Linked DNA regions of Homo sapiens: region 2 is linked to region 1. The links are contacts of gene promoters, found by promoter capture Hi-C in human tissues and cell types (Jung and others, 2019). All regions are on one chromosome and are shown on one strand. Each heading gives the region's core, a stretch centred on a gene start or on the middle of the fragment in contact. The rest is flanking DNA. Distances are from core to core; before and after follow the strand shown. Region 1 holds the start of TNFAIP3 (TNF alpha induced protein 3). Region 2 overlaps HEBP2 (heme binding protein 2).

The links. The method cuts DNA at HindIII sites, captures the fragments that hold promoters and counts their contacts. A contact is called where the count stands out against the background at its distance.
Region 2: a contact is called between a fragment that was not itself captured here and the fragment with the promoter of TNFAIP3 in region 1, in 1 of the 25 tissues and cell types used here (liver).

What each region holds. Positions count from the first base shown.
Region 1 is chr6:137,863,696-137,869,703 of GRCh38, reverse strand. TNFAIP3 (TNF alpha induced protein 3) reads right to left here and starts at 2,445. Exons shown (of 9, transcript NM_001270508.2): 1 at 2,162-2,445. It overlaps WAKMAR2 (wound and keratinocyte migration associated lncRNA 2), which reads left to right and starts at 1,471. Exons shown (of 4, transcript NR_049793.1): 1 at 1,471-2,062; 2 at 2,820-3,121; 3 at 4,384-4,545. RefSeq lists silencers at 1,899-1,998, 2,139-2,308, 2,549-2,688 and an enhancer at 2,769-2,908. The HindIII fragment of the contact is 7,262 bases long and covers 1-5,058 here.
Region 2 is chr6:138,410,638-138,417,283 of GRCh38, reverse strand. HEBP2 (heme binding protein 2) reads right to left here. Exons shown (of 4, transcript NM_014320.3): 4 at 1-4,404. The coding sequence ends at 4,206. Among named protein-coding and RNA genes, the nearest start is that of HEBP2, 9.7 kb to the right of the region's middle. The HindIII fragment of the contact is 5,988 bases long and covers 2,035-6,646 here.

The DNA.
Region 1 (6,008 bases), core at 1,196-3,695:
CTAGACTCTCAACACCATTGATAAGGTGTTGAGATAATTCTTGTGGCCCACTCAAAGGAGAGAGGTTGGACTAGATGACCCATGGTTTCTCCTGAGGAGTTTTCTGGTGATAGTTTTAGATTGGGATTCTTAATCTGATTGCTGGGAAAGGCATAGTGGGAGTCATTCTCTGGATCAGATGGTGCTCTCTTTTGATGTCAGACGTCCTCTACAGGTGGAATTGGGCAAAATCATAGCAGGATAAAAATAACACATATACCTTTCCTTTGTGGCACAGCAAAAGTCTCTTTCACAATATCATCTATCCGTCCGTCCGTCCGTCCGTCCATCCATCCATCCATCCATCCATCCATCCATCCATCCATCTATCCATCCATCCACCCATCCACCCAACAAGCACTACCTGACCACCTACTGAAGGCCAATCACCATGCTTGATGATGGGACTAAAAGTCAAAGATGACCTTATTCCCTTCCCTGAAATTACACTACCACCTTAGTCTGCAGCTAAGGCAATGGAGTTACAGGTACTGCTCAGATCCCACAGCCATTCAGGGGCAAAGTTTTGCCTAGGAGCCAGGTCTTTCAATACCTGCCCCTTGCAATCCCACAACACCAAACCTGTGGCTACAGTGCCTGCCACAATCAGATGGAAAGAGATGGGCAGTAGGAAGATTTTAAACAAATGAGGTGTTATCTCTTTTTGCTTGCCTGACTCTTTTATTTTTCTCTTCTGAATCTAAAGATTTTTCACCAAAGATCTAAAATAGTGAGAGCTGTAAACCATAGGCAAGACATGCAAATGTCAATATCGGATACGCCAGTGTGATCTCATTGGTAGGGTTAGCCTTGCACAGCCTGTAAAACTGCCTCCTTAGAAATCAAAACCCACTGCCCAGATTTCCAGGTCTTGGACCACTCTACGCTTAAGATTAAAGAACAAATGTTTCAGATACGTTATAAGTGGCAAACAATGCAATATTACCCTTAACTTTTTTTTTTTTAACATTTGTTACCTCACTGTCTTATTTAAAGGTAGTTTCTCAACTTTTGTCACTAGGATTCCACAGAACTTCTCCGTTACTCAAACTCTTCTCCCCCTTGTTTTATTTTTCCACTCTGGGCAGACATTTTTGTCTGCATTGTGGAAATTGATGAATTATTTATCAACAAATACCTCATCCAAATTTGGGGATGTGCCTCTCCAAAAAATCAAAAATAGTACAAAGAATTGAAAAAAAAATCAAAGCAGCACCTTAAACAATGAGAATGAAGCATTCATTGGCTGCTCAATAATCTGGTACATTAAGGTTGCGGTCCAGAAGTCCCTTTAATTAACAATGGTTCTGCCAAAATGCTACCCTGAGACACTTGACCAGACTGGCTTTCCAAGGCAAGAAGATCTGAGGCGAGGAGAACCGAAAACAAAGCGGGCTCAAAAAGAGTTAAGCTCCTTCCTTACTTAATGCCACTGCTTTTCTGAGAGGCCAGGTGGCAGGATGTGGGACGACTCCAGCTGACAAAGACAGTCTAACCGTGGGGTAGGGGCTGGAGCAGGGGCCAGCGACCCACGTCTACATGCATACTTCTCTTACACTGCTGCTACTGGAAAAGCTGAACCCCGCGCCAGGACCCCAGCCCCCTGCAAGGACCCGTGAGCGTCTGGGAAGCTGTCTCTGGGACTGAAGCCCCCCACCTCCGCCGGGCTGGCGGCCACTGCGGTACCCTACGCCCCGTCGGGCTGGTCCTGCACAATTTGGGAAAAAGCCGCAGCGCTTCTGCAAGGTCTACGTGGCCATGAGCATGCAACGCTTGGCTCCAAAAAAGACACGAAAGGAGCAAAGCGCCAACGACCACCCGATCGGAGGGCCCGAGGGGCGCCTCTTCACCAGTCAGCTGCAGCTTAAGTTCCGTGCATTATCTGAAAGGAACAGCTGGCTGGAGGTATCCAGGGCTGTCACTCCAACCTCTGCAGCAGTGACCTCAACTCCCAGCACTTCAAAACCCAGACAGAAACGTCCAACAAACTCCCAGTCCAGGAGCGCTGCAAAACCAACGCCAGGTAGACGGTGCCAGCCCGGGGGTCGCTGCCCAACATGCACCCGCAGCCCTTGACTGCGGTGAGCCCGAGGCAGACGGCACGGGGAGGCGCGGCGGTTACCTCTCCGGGAGGCGCGGCGGTTACCTCTCCGGGAGGCGCGGCGGTTACCTCTCCGGGCCCCGCGATCCTTTCGCAAAGTCCCAAGTCCTGGTCAAGGCAGGAGCGCGCCGCAGGCGGGGGTCGGGGCAGGGACCGGGCGGAGGCGACGCTCCATGGACGCCTGGGGTCGGGCTCGCTCGCTGGCAGGGTCGGCTGGGGGTGTGATCTCTCTTGGCGGCCGCTCTCACCGCTCCGCCCCCGCGGGCTCCAAGCTCGCTTGGCCCGCCACGAAGACTGCAGACTGCGCAGTCTGCTTTGCCCCGTTTCAGTTGTATGCGGGTTGTAGGCCCGGGGATTTCCACGGGACTTTCCAAAGTCACGTGACTCTCTGGGTCGGGCTGCGAAGTGCGTCCAGCCGGCCGCCAGAGGGCGCAGGGGGCGAGGGGCGCGCGCGGCCTCCGCCCGACCGGGCCTGCGGGCCCCGCCCCGCCCCCTTTCCCTGCCCCGCCCCGCTGCCCCGCCCCGCCCGGTCCCTGCAGGCGCCCGGAGAAACTCCCTCGCCCCGCCCCGGGGTGTCCCCGCGTGAGTCACCTGGGCATTTCGGAAGCTGGGGTCACGTCACATCCATGTGGAAATCGCGGTGATGGGAACTGGAAATGAAATAGGTTCTTTTTCGCAGTTGTTTTTCTGCAGAAAATCATCAACTGTGGAGAAGAAGAAGGGAAATAAGAAAGAAAGAAAACCCTAAAAACCACCCTGGCGCCCGGGCCCGCAGGCCTCGGGCCGGCTCTGAAAAGTTTGGGCTGTGCACGTGATGAGCGCGTAGGCGGGAGCCCCAGACAGGACCCGGGCGGGCATTTCGAGAAAAAGCAGCGGTGACAGCCTTTGGTCCCCATCTCCATTGTTCCTGCCAGCTCTGGACCCCAGGCTGCATGAGACGTAGGTCCCAGGGGACACCCGACCCCGTGGCCCCAGTCTTAGGTAAACTTAGGAATCAGAACAACACTCACCCCTATGCCGCGCTTGCTCCATTTCCCCTTGTCTATTTCTGCTCACCAAGCATCCAGCTGACATTGCATTCAAAGCAGCATTTCAGCTTAGAAATCGCTTCTAGTCCATCACGGTGCTTGCCATGTGTCTCCAAGGCTTTATTAGGTGTGTTTTTAGTTGTCCTGATAATCAGTTCACCCCAGGGTGCTGATGGCTGATAATACTGGCGCTTCCCTCCCTACCCCCATGCGTTGCACAGGGAGGGTGAGTCATGTGGAGATGGATGCAGCCCCCTGGGCAGTGGGGGTGCAGGTGCTGTGCAGGGAGGAGTCTTAGGGCGTTTTTACTGTCTTACTGCCCTCTAAGCACGGGACCCTTTGGATCATTTACTAGATTGGCTAAACTAGAACCGGATGGAAATATTCTGTACTATGGTCCCCTTAATTACATTTAAGAATACTTGTCAGGCCATATATCACAGGTTTTTAATTAGAAAAGTATCCTCCTCTCGCCAGTAAGGACTTGCAGAGATGGGGGTGGGGGCTGGATGGAGGGTGGCACTTTTTTGGCAAAAAGAAGTTTGGAGCAGAGTGTCACTAGTGGCCTCTCTGAAGACTGGTCCTCGTCTTTTAAAACCGATGGCTGGAATTTCTTCCAGTTCCAAACCTCTTGTTATTTGTCCTCTCTTCTTGTTCACAAATGTGCTATCAACATTCAAACAATGGATAGTCAGCTATCCATTGTAAATGGACCTTGCTGGAGTCCAGGGCTAGCAGAAATGACAGGGTCTAAAATGACATTTATCAAGTACTTGCTATATGCTTATATATGCTTTTTATATGAAGGTTAAGAAGCTTGAGGCATTTGCCCAGTTTCCACAACCAAAAGGGGCAGAGTCGCCAGTGGCATTAAGCCTGTGTTACTCCAAAGCCCATAATGACCAGTCTTACTAGACCATTCCTCTCAGGAAAGATCCTGTGAGACAGGTACTCTTTTGGTGTCCTGTCTCCCAGCCTCTCAAAACAGCCAAACACGGACCTTAGACAGAATGCGGCTTCAGAGGTAGAAGGGTCTTGGTTTCACCTTCAGGAAACCTCCTGGGTTTCAGTTGAGCTGGCAGAAGAAGATCATGTATCTGAAAGACCCTGCATGGAATGTTAATCCTCACACCACTCTCCTGCTGGTGCTCCTTTGTAAACAGAGTTGGCCTGTTTCCTCTCATCTCTGGCTCCATGACTTCAATCCTCCTGCAGCTTCCACTGCCCCTATCTGGCTCATGTCTTGCTGTCTGGTGTCATGAACTGGGAGTGCAGTAAAGAGGAGTGACAAGCCTGAGGGGCCACGTTCATACCTGCCACTGCCAACTGTCCTGATGTAACTGCTTTGTCATCTTGCCTGCCAGGATTTGTGACAAGGTAATAGCAGTCAGATGCAGGAGTGGTCTATAGCCCTGGATTATGTTCGAACTCCACTTTCCATGATTCTACTGCTGGGCTTGTGAATTGCCACTCCCACCACCAGGCGGTCTTTACTGTCCTTTCCACCTTCTAAATCAGCGCTGTGTTGGGCTGTACCCTTGCCTTTTCCCCTTCTATTATGTAACACATGGACAAGACCAATGACAATTTTCTTGGTGAATCAGAAGGAAAGAAAAGAAGAGAAGGAGAGAGTATAGATGGAATGCCTTCTTATGAAAAAAAGGAGAAATACAATTTGGGGAGATTTGTTGAATAAGTTGAAACCAAAGAGATATAGAATGCTGAAAAGCCTTGAAGGAGATTTAATTTGAGCTATAGGCCTTGTCAAGATGGACAGAACTCTTTAAAGAAGAGAATATTTATTAACATTTAGTAGACACTTAGGAGAAAAAATATGTCTCCTTATTAGATGAAAAAGGAATTCTGATTATGTGAAATATTTTTGGAGAGTTCCTAAGTTACGTGCCATTTTGACACCAATGCTGGGGTTTATGGGTCATGAACTATGTAAAATGAGCACACATGACCTCTTGGAATTAAACGGTTCCCGTGAGACTGTGCTTGCAGCCTGTATCCCTGTACCATGCAGTAAAAAAGATGTGCTTGCCCAGATGGGGGGAGCAGGAAGAACCTGATGAAAGAGAGCACCACGTGTGACAAGTGAGAGGAGACCCTGCTGAGCTCAAACATATTTCATGAGCCTTTCTTAATCAAGAATCAGCAACAGTTGATTGGTTGTTGATTCTTTTTTTTTTTTTTGAGACGTCGTCTTGCTCTGTCGCCCAGGCTGGAGTGCAGTGGCGCGATCTCAGCTCACTGCAAGCTCCGCCTCCCGGGTTCACGCCATTCTCCTGCCTCAGCCTCCCGAGTAGCTGGGACTACAGGCGCCCGCCACTACGCCCGGCTAATTTTTTGTATTTTTAGTAGAGACGGGGTTTCGCCGTGTTAGCCAGGATGGTCTCGATTCTCCTGACCTCGTGATCCACCCGCCTTGGCCTCCCAAAGTGCTGGGATTACAGGCGTGAGCCACCGCGCCTGGCCCCTGGTTGTTGATTGTTAATTAGCATGCGTCTGCAGTCCCAGCTACTCGGGAGGCTGAGAGGGAAGGGTCCTTTGAGTCCGGGAGTTTGAGTCTATCCTGGGCAACATAGTAAGACCCATGTTTCTAAAAATTAAAAAAATAAAAAAGAAGAAATTATGTATTTTTAATAATCAGTGACACTCTCTTTCTGAGACTGTACAGAATTCCAGGGCATGGCAGTCATGGGCCAAACTAAAACTGGACCTTTTGTGTCTTTTGTACAATTGCCCCCTCCCCTTTTCCCTGCACTGTGCTCTATTGGAAAGGCAGATTCATAGAAAACATATTGGGAAGCAGCCTTAGGTAACTATGGCAGCTT
Region 2 (6,646 bases), core at 3,779-6,278, 540 kb before region 1:
ACAGGTCAAGGAACAAATGTAGGGGTTATTCTGCCTGCCAAGGATGTCAGTCTCAATTATACATTCAGGGATTAGGCAGATAACCTGCAGGCCCAGGAGATCTGCTGTAAGCCAAACTTTGATTAGAACTACGTTTACTTTCTAACCTCTGTATGCTCCCATTTTAATGGGAGGAGGAGGAACTGTAATGACTCTTTGGGTTTCTGGGTATCAGACGTTAACTTGGACCCTGACGTATCCAGGTATTCCTCTTTCCCCAGGGTAGAGCCACCTGAGTAAATGGCCATAGATCCTTTAGAAAAAGAATGAGGGGATCATTACTGTGTACACCTGCTGAAATGTTGCAGGAAACTTTCCCCTAGGATACAGTCACCTCTGCAATTAATGAGCTCTAGGTCAGAAAACTGAACTAGAAACTGGCAAGGAATCATGTTTTTGTTTTTTAATTGGAGTGATCTCTCTCAGTCCCCTGCTCATCAATTCTTGCTCACTTTTGATTATATATAAAGCCTTACCCTTGTTGATTAGTCAGCTCTTTTGTCCCTAGGAATGCCTTGTTCTACCAACTATTTCCATGAGACTTTACAGGTCAGGACCCCTCGGCTGCCATTTGGAGCTTAGTGGTTAACAGGATACTGATGGCACCCTGGCTTCTGTGGCTGGCACTGCCACCTGGGCTCTTCAAGGTCTCATCATCATCCACATTGCTCTCAGCAAGTGAAGTTCCATCACAGCCCTTCCTGCCAGCCCCAGCCTGCCGAGGAGAGCCACCGCTGAGCTCCTTTATGATGCCCAAGCCCGCTTATCAGTGCATTCCCAGCAGCCTTGCTGAAGGATGGGTCCCCTGGGCCTTCCCGTGGAACATAATTGTCTGATGGGTCACCTTGCCTCATATATCCATGCTGGCATGCTCCCTTCCCTGAGCCTTCTCATTCCTTTCTCTATTGTTTGTCCCAGCCATTCAGGCATTTCAACATTTTGATCACTCTTTCTAGGCTTCTACCAAGCTGCCCTAGAGCAGTGAGTCTGTATTATCTCCTGGCATTTTTCTCATGGTGTGAAATCCTCTATCCTGAGAGCCCCAAGTCAATATACCCTCTCCTTTATCTAGTTGTATAAACCCAGCCCCTTTGACCAAGCACCCTCAGGATCCAGTCCCAAGAGTACGCCCCTGGCCCCTGCAGTACATGCTGCCAGGTTAGGTGGCTCCTCTGGCATAGATCCCATTTCTCCCTCATCAGACCCCTCAGCCGCAATCAGTTATGTTGTGACTTAAGTCTCGTTATAGGCCTGGTAGCCAGGAGAAGGGGAGGGACCAGTCCTGAGGGACACCTTTTGCTTCATGGGGAAAGACCTTGGACACTGTCTTCCCTTGTGTTAGGGAAGAGGCAGGAAGGGAGGGTAGTTCCAGCTCTTCATGGGGAAGGGTGGGCCTCTTCTGAAGGATGTGAATATTCAGGGAGTTTTCTAGGGAGGCAGATGGTTGGGGAGATCCACTAAATGCTCCCATCCCATGTTTTGGGATCCCAAGTTTGATTCCAACCTTGATCTAACAGACCTGGCTTGGTTGAGTATTTGTTGGCTGTTAGCTACTTTTACCATCAAATCCTGTGCTTGGCCTTCAGCTTGCTCTGCTTGGCTACAGCATGAGATGAGGATTGTTGGCAAGCTACCACAGAGACTCTGCGGCTCACACTTAGTTTTGTTTGTTAATTGACCTCAGCTTTTCATTATCCACTTGCAGGACGTCAATCCAACTCAGCAATAACCATGGAAGCCCACTGTCCTTGTCTCTTTTATCCACCCTTCCCATATTTGAGACACCCAAATCACCCACCAGTCATTGCGTTCCCCTGCACCAGCATGCCATTTCATCTGAAGTCTTCATCACTGGACAGCCTTCTTGTGCCAGGGACTGTCTGTGCCACCTATCCACCAGGGATGGGGGCCTCCGAGCCAGCCAGACAGTGAGTCACTCAGCCTGCAAATGCTGTCTTACCACCTACGTTCGTGGGCCACTGGTACCAATTGTGCCAATTTTAGGCTGAGATGGAGTTAGGAGTACAAAACTGGTGAAGTGACATCTCTGAAAGGAAAAGGGAAAAGCAGGATTGAGCAGAGGAACGGTAGGATCTAACAAAGTCTCTAGCAGCCCACCAAAAAGCTCCAGAGCAGAGACTGCTTATTAGAGGGCTTTCGAGTTGGTAGAAATGACTAGGACTTTTTTTTTTCTTTCTGAGACAGGATCTTGCTCTGTCACCCAGGCTGGAGTGCAGTGGCATGATCAGGACTCACTGCAACCTCCGCCTCCCGAGCTCAAGCAATCCTTTCACCTCAGGAGCTAGGAATACAGGCGTGTGCCACCACGCTTGGCTAATTTTTTATTTTTTGGACAGACAGTCTCACTAGGTTGCCATGACTCGTCTTGAACTTCTGGGCTCAAGCAATCCTCCCACCTTAGCCTCCCAAAGTGCTGGAATTACAGCTGTGAGCCACTGCACCTGGCCTAAATGGCTAGGTCTTATACCACCACCTTGCTCAGTTATTGGCTGGGAATTGCCAGAAAAAAGCATGCTGTCAGCTACCACTGCCTTGCTCAGTTGTAGACTAGGTCCCTCTCTCCCACAGAATAGTGTGTCCTTATCTTGAAATCTGGCGTGGACCCTGAAGACGGTAACGGGGAGACTGTCGGCGAACCACACCCCTCACAGCTGGGCGGCTGGTACTTTCTTGAAGGTGAATTTGAGTGGCACACCTCACGTTGTCTGCCACCACTTCAAATCCTGAATAAAACTGACCATCCTTTGGCCACAGTAGCAATTAAGTACCAGAAACAATCAATGACAATTTCCCATCAGTAACCTCACCTCCAAACTAGGCTTCTAAATCATGCTAATCAGCAGCGGCCTCACTCTGGTAACTGCATCCCCACAACTAAAGCTCCCTCGACTCCTAAATGCTTTTGAAAGTCTGTTAATCCTTCCTAAAACCCTGCATAAGGTCCGCAGTTTTCTTTATCCGAGAGACCGTGCCCTACAAGAGCAGTGCTCTCTTGCTCAGCAAGCAGTGTGTGCAGCTTTTTGTTCTGGGTACTGAACGTGGCCTCTCCCTTTAACACTGTCACCTCTGCCCAAGATGCTCCCCTCACCTCTGCCCCTGGCTTTCATCTGACTCATCCTCGTCATTCAAGTCTCAACTGTCTCTTGAGAGGCCTTTGCTGACCACCTTATGTGATGTCCACCACACCCTACCTAACCACACTCTACCCCACTGCCCTATTCTGTTCTTCATCACACTTGCCAATTTCAAGCATCTTATTTGTGTTGAACTCCCTCACCCTCTAGAATGTAAACTCCATGAGGCCAGGGGCCTTGTCTGTGGTGTTCACAGTGGGAGGGTGAATGAAATAGTTAAGGAGGTGGAAAGATGTTGTTGGAGTTAGTGAAGAGGAAGTCAGTGATGAGGGGCTTGGGACACAGGTTTTCTTACCACCACCTCCCAGTCCTTAGCAGAGTGCTTGGAACATAGCAGGGACTCCCTACAATGAGTTAAAGAATGAATGAAAATACGTGACAGTTCAGGGAAATGTTTAGGGGAAAAAGCAAGATTTTTAGGGGGTTAAGTGGAGACCAGAAAGAAAGGAATGAATTCATTACATTTAAATGGAGTTACATGGAGTATTCTTGTGCAGTGGGGCAGTGGGAGGATGCAGGAGGGAAAGTAATACATACAACAGAGAATGTAATGGTGGCAGCCACAAAAGACAATTTGATTTTTGTGTCCAGCTGAATTTCACCTCTCCGGGCCTGACAGCCTAGGGGTTCCACACAAGATAAATAATTTTAACATTTTATTGATACTATCTGGAGGGGATATCATCCAACTGACACAAATCCAAGAAAAAAAAAAGGGAATATGATTGTGATGCAGTGAAGGAGGGAAGTGACATGAAATTTCCCTAGATCCTCACAGAAATAAAGACCACGATAGTTATGACCGATTTATATGTTTACAGACTACTGTCCTCTGTTACCTGTGTATGTAGATAAAACTTCAAGCATTAAAAAGGCACATTGGAAATAAGCTTAATTAATAGTAGTACTCTCAATAGAAGACACTAGACACGCACTTTACTTATAGGTCATGTTGATGTCTATGATAAACAGATGTTTTGCCTCTGACAGCAGAACTTCCTTTCATTTTTCTCATTCGTTTTCTTTGGTGGGTTCATTTTTTTGAATCAACCACACTTCATTATTTCTATTAAGCAATTTGACAGGACTGTTGTAGCCTGCAGTGTAGTAAACCTTCTCATCGAAAACTTTTCCATCTTCCCTTAAAATGCTTGCTAATGTCAAAAGTTGTTCTTGATTCTTTTGGGCACTAGAAAATCCATCGAAAGACCTACAAAGGAGAAAGGAAATAACCGTGAATGATTTTAATACTGATGTGAATGTCAGTCTGAAGCAAAAAGCGGGCGCTAGTACCGTGAATGCTGAGTGAAGTGCAGCTCCAAAGTTACTCCCTCTCGGCCAGGCGAGGTGGCTCACACCTGTAATCCCAGGACTTTGGGAGGCCAAGGTGGGCGGATCACTTGAGGTCAGGAGTTCAAGACCAGCCTGGCCAACATGGTAAAACCCCATCTCTAATAAAAATACAAAACTTAGCCAGATGTGGTGGCGGATGCCTGTAGTCCCAGTTACTTGGGAGGCTGAAGCAGGAGAATCGCTTGAACCTGGGAGGTGGAGGTTGCAGTGAGCCAAGATCACGCCACTGCACTCCAGCCTGGGCGACAGAGTGCAAGACTCTTTCTCAAAAAATAAAAATAAAAAAAGCTACTCCCTCTCAGCAGATGAACTGACCACTCCTGCCTGTGATTCCCAGTCTCCATGTGACCTCAGAAGCACTGAGGAAACCCAGGAGGATGCATCCCCTCCTTCCATCTGTTGACAGGTGGATTTGGAACCTACACAATCTCAAGTGCTCTACCCTGTGCTTCTCAAACCTTTAACGTGCATACAGGTCACCTGGGGATTTTGCTACGATGCAGATTCAGGTCTGGGGTGGGGCCTGAGAGTGTATTTCCTCCGAGCTCCCACATCCATGCCGGTGCTGCTGATCAGAGAACTACACCAACACCCCTGTAGAAGCCCCTTTTCCAGACTCGATTTTCACTTGCACATTGCCCCTTTTTCCCTCTCCTAAGGAAAAGAATAAACACTGGATTACAGATGAATATGATACAGTTTTCACCTCTCTGAATTTATGATCCAATGGAAGAGATCAACGTTCTGGCAGCTCTCTCTATACATCCTGAGGTTTTTTTGTTTGTTTGTTTTTTTGAGACAGAGTCTCACTCTGTCTGTTGCCCAGGCTGGAATATGGTGGCAGAGCATCCTTGACCTCCTGGGCTCAAGCAGTCCTCCCACCTCAGCCTCCCAAGTTGCTGGAACCACAGGTGCACATCGGACTAATTTTTTAAAAAACCTGTAGAGACAGGGTCTTACTGTGTTACCTAGGCTGGTCTCAAACTCCTGAGCTCGAGTGATCCACCTGCCTTGGCCTCCCAAAGCAATGGGATTATAGGCATAAGCCACCACGCCCGGCCTCTGAGAAGGGTTTTAAACAGGGACAGGATCAAAGTGTTGTGGGAGCGTTGAGGACCTGATTAAATCTGGGGTAAGGAGAATCATCTGAGTTGGGCCTGAATGGAGGATGGTTTTGCTGAACAAAGAAAGGGGAGTGATAGGAAAGAGACCATAAATCTAAAAATACCAAGTGTTTTCATAGTGAGGCATAAAATGAGGTCAGGAAGGTGAGTCAGAACTAGAAGGAAGAACCCTGTGCATTAGCCTAAGGCCTTTTGAGGTTATTTCCAAGGATGTTGAGCTGAAATGTGCAACTTGATAAGATCTGGATTAGAATATAGGCAGACATATAATAGACTGGTGAGGAAGGATCCAGTCAGGAGGCTGCTGTGGGGAAGTGGAAGAAAAGACAGTCAAAAGATTAAAACAAAAAGTGGGAAAAGAGAATAAAAGTTTAAGTATACATTCTACAGTATATAAACAAAAACATCCTGAGATTAAATCATGACAGCACTGACCTAGCTGAGCTGCTGACATGCAAGCATGATGAATTTGATTTTGAGGGTTAAGAATAAGAAACACTGAGAAACAAAACTTTTCCTAATATGCCTTCTTTGGTATAAGTTCTGTTATCAATGTGCCAGTGCAAAAAATCAATCCTACCACGCTTCAGCTGAGGTGTCATCTCTTTTAAGGGTACAAACCATGTCTGCTTTATATAACAATGTCTACCCAGCACCCAGAACCATTCCTGGCATGCAGTTCCCTTTTAATCCTGTCAAGTGTAGGAATCTCTGCATGCACATGTATGCAAAATAAAACACTGCAGGTGAGTTGATATAACTCTTCCATTCTATCATTTTCATGTCGATTGAATATAATTCTGAACCATGGGTTAAGAAACATTTTGGGCCAGGCATGGTGGCTCACGCCTGTAGTCTCAACACTTTGAGAAGCCAAGGCGGGTGGATCACCTGAGGTCAGGAGTTCCAGACCAGCCTGGCCAAGATGGTGAAACCCCGTCTCTACTAAAAATATAAAAATTAGCCAGGCATAGT